Linked DNA regions of Homo sapiens: region 2 is linked to region 1. Evidence: promoter capture Hi-C in 16 types of primary human blood cells and fetal thymus (Javierre and others, 2016). All regions are on one chromosome and are shown on one strand. The core of a region is centred on a gene start or on the middle of the fragment in contact, and the rest is flanking DNA. Distances in the headings are between cores, read along the strand shown.

The links. Contacts are between HindIII fragments. The CHiCAGO score rates a contact against its expected background, and 5 or more counts as called.
Region 2: a contact is called between a fragment that was not itself captured here and the fragment with the promoter of GDPD1 in region 1, in 1 of 17 cell types (megakaryocytes). The highest score is 7.4, in megakaryocytes.

What each region holds. Positions count from the first base shown.
Region 1 is chr17:59,218,758-59,222,473 of GRCh38, reverse strand. It overlaps GDPD1 (glycerophosphodiester phosphodiesterase domain containing 1), which reads right to left and starts at 1,963. Exons shown (of 10, transcript NM_182569.4): 1 at 1,723-1,963. The coding sequence starts at 1,864. RefSeq lists an enhancer at 1,387-1,937. The HindIII fragment of the contact is 5,185 bases long and covers 1-2,161 here.
Region 2 is chr17:59,440,793-59,444,508 of GRCh38, reverse strand. The region is part of intron 2 of LINC01476 (long intergenic non-protein coding RNA 1476); the gene reads left to right. LOC124904040 (a long non-coding RNA gene) reads right to left here. Exons shown (of 3, transcript XR_007065867.1): 1 at 3,381-3,716; 2 at 2,873-3,044. Among named protein-coding and RNA genes, the nearest start is that of MIR4729, 77 kb to the right of the region's middle. RefSeq lists a silencer at 1,400-1,605 and enhancers at 3,634-3,693, 3,704-3,716. The HindIII fragment of the contact is 5,021 bases long and covers 1-3,716 here.

The sequences.
Region 1 (3,716 bases), core at 714-3,213:
AGCACTTTGGGAGGCCGAGATGGGCGGATCACGAGGTCAGGAAATCGAGACCATCCTGGCTCAGACAGTGAAACCCCGTCTCTACTAAAAATAAAAAAAATTAACTGGGTGTGGTGGCGGGCGCCTGTAGTCCCAGCTACTCGGGAGGCTGAGGCAGGAGAATGGCGTGAACCCGGGAGGAGGAGCTTGCAGTGAGCCGAGATCGCGCCACTGCACTTCAGCCTGGGTGACAGACCGAGACTCCATCTCAAAACAAACAAACAAAAAAACAAACAAACAAAAACACAAAAAGAAAAAAGAAAATTGCTTCTGTGACAGCAACTTGAATACTAAAAGTCGGTCCCTGGTTCCAATGGTTGAAGGCACCTTAGTAGTTAAATGTCATCCTACAGTTTAACCAGGTAGCTATTAAAACAGATAACCCAAATAAACAATAACAAGGCATTTGGCTGACCACCCTTTAAAACCTCTGAGGCTTTTCATGAGTGGGAAGGCTAGAATACTATTGAAGTCACTCATTAGAACTATGCTTAACTAATAAAATTATATAGAAGAATGATAATGTACTTCCGTATTTATATTTCAAAACCTTTTTCCTTGGCCAATACTTGTTAGTAAAGTGATTATGGTACTACACCAAGTTTTAGACTGTAAACTCCTAGAAATTATCATTTCAAGTGTGTATTAAATTTCAAGCAAATTTTAAACCGGTTTAAGATTCAGCCTTAAAGAACAGTTAAAATTGATTGAAAATAATCCAATTTCACCGCACTTTATACATCATAGTTGAAATGCAATGAAGACACATTATTACACAATAATGAAGAAGCAAAGATTTGGCCTGTTATCTGGGAAATTAGAGGGTGGACTACCTGGGCTCCTTTTAGCAAAACACTTTTCCAAAAGAAACTTATTTTTGTTTTCTTTAAACAATACTGTCCTGTCCTAAACGAAATCATTTTTAGTCTGTTGAAAATCCACGTGTCTTTGCGTGTTTATTTATTTATTTATTTATTTATTTATTTATTGCAGTGTTCAAAAAAAAAAAAAAAAAGATGCAAGGTTTCCAGCCCTGAGGACCAGGACGCTGTAGCTCCTGTCTCAGTTCAGCCCTAGCTCTAATTGTGACCTTGGGAAATGTCCCTGGCTCGGGGGACTCGGTTTCCCTCTCTTCTCAATTATGAGTGCTCGGAACGTGGGGGTGGGACGGGCCCCCAGCACCGCAGACAAGGGGTTACAGCTCGTCCAGCTTCATGCAAATCCCCAGCCCTCCTCGTCGCCTCGGCTCTTCCCATCCACTCAGCCACTAGCTCGCTCGGAGCAGTGTGCTCCCGGTGCCCCCCGCGGGGTACCCTCGGTTCTGCACGGCGCTCCCCCTTTGTGTCTTGCTGCTAGGAAGGGACCTTGCGATCATCCTTCCATCCGCCGAGAAACGCTCCACCTACCCTTCATTCTCGACCGTGTCTTTCCCGTTTCAGAGAACCCCTCACACTGCTGCCCTCGAGAGACCCCCGCCGTGGCTCTGACCGGGAATCCCTCTCCTTCCCTCCCCTCAGGAGACCTTCCCTTCACACAGCCTTCACCTCCGGAAGAGCCCTCAATTCACACAACCCCATTCTTCCTCAAACTCTCAGGGATTGGCACCCGGCTGCCTTTTGCGGAGCCGCAAAGGACCCTCAGCCTCCCCCACCTCCGTCATCGGGTTCTGGGGACCCCTCTCACCTCCGCGGTGAGAGATGTGTTTACTGAGGAATCGCTGCTTCTTTCTCTGGTGCAGCAAGGTCGGGTATTTAAGCAACAAGAATGAGGTCACCAAGTATCCTCCTAGCGTAGAGAGAAGGTAAAAAGCCGCAGTGGACGACATCTCAGTCACCGTGTGGGAAGTCTCCCACCTCCGGGCCCTCTGAACTCCGCTGCGGCAGTAGCAACGACGGCGGCGGCGGCGGCTGCTCGAGGTCGGCTCGCCCCCAGCCGGTGCCACTGGTGCAGCGCACTTGTCGGTGCCGGCCTACTGCGCACGCGCAGCTGGACCCCAGCGCCCCAGCAACAAAGAGGCTCCGACGCGCAGGCGCTCTCCGGCTCCCGTGTAGGAACCTGCAGAGATCCTGGACTGAGCGTTTGTCACCTAGCTCTGTGGACGGACCCTCATGAAGAGAAAGCTTGCAAACCTGCCAGTGTGTTGGCCATCACTCAAGCAGAAAAGACTATTCACGGGCAGCCTTTCCTAATTGGAAAATCCACATCAAAAAGGAAAGATTCCAGGGCGCGTCTTATCCCTTGCTCTAGAAAATGCAAATAATTTGTACCTATGGAGGCGATAAAGCTTGCTAAAACACTAAATAAACTCCTCCGTTTATCTAGCCTAGAGAGAATTTCCCCTATGGTCGCATATACTAGAAAAGGTACTGGTTTATCAGTCAAATATCTGAGAGATCGGCCCCTGTCCTCCCTCATTTCATTGTGAAAGTGCAATCCTCATTCTTTGTACACAATAGGCACTGTAGAAGTATTTGTTGACTTACAAGTCCGTATAAAATAAGGAAACTTTGTTAAGGTTATAAGGTATTACCTAAAAGTCCTAGAAAGACAGATAACTAAGTTCCAGAAGGCCCTACTAGTTTTCCTTTTACCCGACAAATTACAAACTGCTAACACACGAAAAGCCACACACTTCAATGCAAAAGAAATAAATCACCCAGGACTGAGGGAGAAATTTTACGGAGAAGACCATATCTCCCACAGGACTAGAAAAGCAGAGTGAATATTTAAAATCCTGATTCAGCCGGGCGCGGTGGCCCACGCCTGTAATCCCAGCACTTAGGGAGGCCGGGAAGGAAGGGTGGATCGCTTGAGCCCGGGAGTTCGAGACCAGCCTGGGCAACATGGCGAAACCCCATCTCTACAAAAAATAAAACAAAATAAGCCCGGCGTGGTGGCGTGCACCTGTAGTCACGCTACTTGGGAGGCTGAAGTGGGAGTATTGCTTGAGCCTGGAAAATCGAGGCTGCAGTGAGCTATGACTGCACCACTGCACCCCAGCCTGGGCGACAGAGCAAGACCCTATCTCAACTATAAAAAGAAAATTAGAAGAAAATAGGGGGTGGCTGGGCACGGTGGCTCAAGCCTGTAATCCCAGCACTTTGGGAGGCTGAGGCGGGCAGATCATTTGAAGTCAGGAGCCTGGCCAACATGGCGAAATTCCATCTCTACTAAAAATACAAAAATTTGCCAGGGGTGGTGGCGTGTGCCTGTGATCCCAGCTACTCAGGAGGCCGAGGCAGGAGAATCTCTTGGACCCGGGAGGCAGAGGTTGCAATGAGCCGAGAAGGCGCCACTGCACTCCAGCCTGGGTGACAGAGCGAGACTCCGTCTCAAAAAAAAAAAAAAAAAAAAAAAAAAAAAAAAAAAAAAAAATTCCTTTAGTCGAGGTTGAAGTGAGCCTTGATGGTGCCACTGCACTCCAGCCTGGGCAACAGAGCAACATTCTGAGGAAACTTACAGGTTAAAAAATCATGTGTTCTGTTTAGGGCTGTTAAACTATTTCCTGTAGATCAACTGACGCACATAGTTCTATTTTTCAAAATATCACCTGATGACTATGGAAGCGTCTAGAATAAACCACTGTGGCATAAAAATTATTTTGAGGCTGGGCATGGTGGCTCACGCCTGTAATCCCAGCACTTTGGGAGGCTGAGACAGGCAGATCACCTGAGGTC
Region 2 (3,716 bases), core at 781-3,280, 220 kb before region 1:
AATGATATACTGCTTCATTTGCTCTCTTTAGAACATATTTTTGAAAGTTCCAGGTAGGAAGTTCTAGGACTCTGGAAACAATCAAGTGTACTCAGCTTCATGTTGCCTCTTCACTACAGTTTCTTTTCTTTTCTCTTTTTTTTTTTTTTTTTTTGAGACGGAGTCTCTGTGATCCAGGCTGGAGTGCAGTGGCACAATCTTAGCTCACTGCAGCCTCCATGTCTCAGGTTCAAGCAATGCTCCTGCCTCAGCCTCCTGAGTTGCTGGGACTACAGGTGCATGCCACCATGCCCAGCTTTTTTTTTTTTTTTTTTTTCAGTAGAGACGGGGTTTCACCATGTTGACCAGTCTGGTCTCGAACACCTGATCTTTGGTGAGCCGCCCTCCTTGGCCTCCCAAAGTGCTGGGATTACAGGCATGAATCACCGTGCCTGGCCGCTTTTCTTTTTTTTTTTTTTCTTTTGAGACAGGGTCTTGCTCTGCCACCCAGGCTGGAGTGCAGTGGCACAATCTTGGCTCACTGCAACCTCTGCCTCCTAGACTCAAGCGATCCTCCCACCTGAGCCTCCTGAGTAGCTGGGACTACAGGTGAGAGCCACACAACAGATTCAAGTCCAACCAAAACACAGAGAAATCGAACCACTCCACTGAAGTAACTATTGTAGTCAAAAATATGATGTTTTTGGCCAGCCATGGTGGCCCACACCTGTAAACCCACCACTATGGGAGTCTGAGGCAGAAGGATCAATTGAGCCCAGAAGTTTGAGACCGGCCTGGGCAACACGGCGAAACCCTGTCTCTACAAAAAAATACAAAATTAGCCAGACGTGGTGATGCATGCCTATAGTCCCAGCTACTTGGGAGCCTGAGGGGAGGATCGCTTGAGTCCAGGAGGTTGAGGCTGCAGTGAGCCATGATGGAGCCACTGCATTCCAGCCTGGGTGACAAGTGAGACCCTGTATCAAAAAAAAAAAAAAAAAAAAATCAGTGTTGTCACCCAAAATATAACGTAAAAACCATAGCAATATTACTCTAATTCCTTGTCTTAGTAGGCAAAATATAAACATGTAAATATTTAAAAATAAAACTGTTGCATTAGGCTGCAAGCTCTCTTAAATCTTCTACATCTGAGATTGGCAAACTATGGCTTACAGGCCAAATTTGGACTGCTGCCTGTTGTAAATAAAGTTTTATTAGAACGCAGCCATATCCATTAGTTTATGTATTGGCTAAGACTGCTTTGTGACTACAAAGGCAGATCTGAATAGTTGTGATGGAGACTGAATGGACCTCAAAGCCTAAAATACTTACTATTTGGGCTGGGCATCATAGCTCATACCTGTAATCTCAGCACTTTCGGAGGCCAAGGCAAGTGGATCACCCGAGGTCAGGAGATCAAGACCAGCCTGGCCAACATGGTGAAACCCCGTCTCTACTAAAAAGACAAAAATTAGCTGGGCGTGGTGGTGGGCACCTGTAATCCCAGCTATTCAGAAGGCTGAGGCAGGAGAATCGCTTGAACCCAGAAGGTGGAGGTTGCAGTGAGCTGAGAACGTACCACTATACTCCAGCTGGGGAGACAGACTGGGACTGTGTCTCAAAAAACAAAGAAAAAAGAAATAAAGTAAATACAATCTGACACTTTTTATAGGAAAAGTTTTATTTATCTTTTTAAATTTTTATTTTTTTATTTTTATTTTATTTTATGTATTTTTTTTTTTTGAGACAGTCTCACTCTGTTGCCCAGGCTGGAGTGCAGTGGCACAATCTCAGCTCACTGCAACCTCCGCCTCCCGGGTTCAAGTAGTTCTCCCTGCCTCAGCCTCCCGAGTAGCTGGGATTACAGGGGCCCACCACCATGCCCAGCTAATCACCTGACCTCAGGTGATTCACCTGCCTTAGCCTCCCAAAGTGCTGGGATTACAGGCGTGAGCCACGGCACCCAGCCTATTTATTTATTTATTTATTTATTTATTTATTTATTTATTTTTAAGACAGGGTCTTGCTCTGTCATCCAGGCTAGAGTGCAACGGCACCATCATGGCTCACTGCAGCCTTGACCTCCTGGGCTCAAGTAGTCTTCCTGCCTCAGCCTCCCAAGTGGCTGGAACTACAGGCATGCACCACCACATCCAGCTAATTTTTAAAATTTTTTGTAAGATGAAGATGAAGAGATGAAGTCTTCCTGAGTTGCCCAGGCTCTTCTCGAACTCCTGGGCTCAAACAATCCTCCCGCCTCAGCCTCCTAAACTGCTGGGATTACAGGTGTGAGCCACGGCACCCAGCCTATTTATCTTTACTTTGCATATATTAGGTGCTCAATAAATGTTTCATGATTTATTGAAAGAATATATCAGAGCTTTCCAGTTGGACATGAAAAATTAACAAACTAGCTCTTTATATAAATTTCTAGGCACAATAGTCAATTTTAACAAATCGTAACACAAAGCATTTTGCAGTTCCCCAGTTTACCTGGTATTTGCTTGTTGCCTTGTCATTTGTTATTCAGAAGAAGACCACATGCCTTGAAAAAATCATATTAGTGCTTTAGCGTTCCAGATTGCAAAATGCTCTGTATTCATGTTTTCAAAGAGTTGGCCTTTGAGCTAAATATGTCTCATTGATATGTTTTATTTGGCTCAGAGTACTGTTGTTTGTTTTTAAGCAACATTAGCCGCCAACATTTAAAAATAAGGTGACTTCACATAATAATCCAAGTTTCCAGCTTCTCCTGAAAATGTGAAAGATCTAGCAATGTGGGTACACGGTTTGGTTAGGCCCATAATCACCTGGGACTGGTTGTTTCTGCTTCCTTAGATGGAGTGAGTACTCTCCTGTTTACCACAGTCCCCACCACTCCCAACAGCCTTACCTCTGGCTGCCTCCATCCAAGTACGATATCTGCGTGGCCTTTCTATAGACATTTGTATTTCGGATCCTTAGTCTAGGGGAGTATCATTTGCTACAAAGGCCCCTGAACTGCAACAGTAGCTGAAAACCACACATTTGCTTCATTTTCCAGGCTTGAAAACAGATTTGTGCATCTAAAGACAAAACAGGAAAGAATGACAATGCTATTAAGATGATGACTTTCATTCCAGCTAAAAGGCAACTTCATCCTCCCACCCCCTCTTTCCTTTTTCAAACAAGCCAGAGGACTTCACCCTCTTTCCTTTCCGCTATTCAGCTCCTTCCACCCACTCCATCTCCTGGTGTTGTTTACCTCAAACCCTGGGGTGCTGTCTCTCCCCAGTTCCCTGCTTCCTTGCTGACCTTAAAAACAACCTTGGTCATTTTTGTTTTTAGAGTTTTACTGCTAATCGCTGCAGCGAAACAGACAGGAAATAACAATACGGAGGAAATTATAAAGTTTAGAAGACCTTGTAGTTCTTAGTCATAGTCCCTGATTCCCTTAAAGCGGTGGCACCTGGAAGTGCATTATTTTTAGTCTCTCCTGTTAGACCCTCATAGCCGGTGGATGGAGAACAGAAAGGAAGAGTCTACCCTGCCTTGATAGAAGAGGAACCACTAGGTGGCAGCACAGGGCGTGTCTTTTCACGTCTTTCTACAACAGGCAGGCGGATGTGAGGCACCAACTTTTCTAGGAAGGGATAACTTAGTACCATATCAGGGCAAGCATTTGGGCTGAGACCAGTGAGAGAATACAAGTCAGCCAAGAGACTCCAGTCACATTGTGCTGTCAAGTAGCCAGCGTT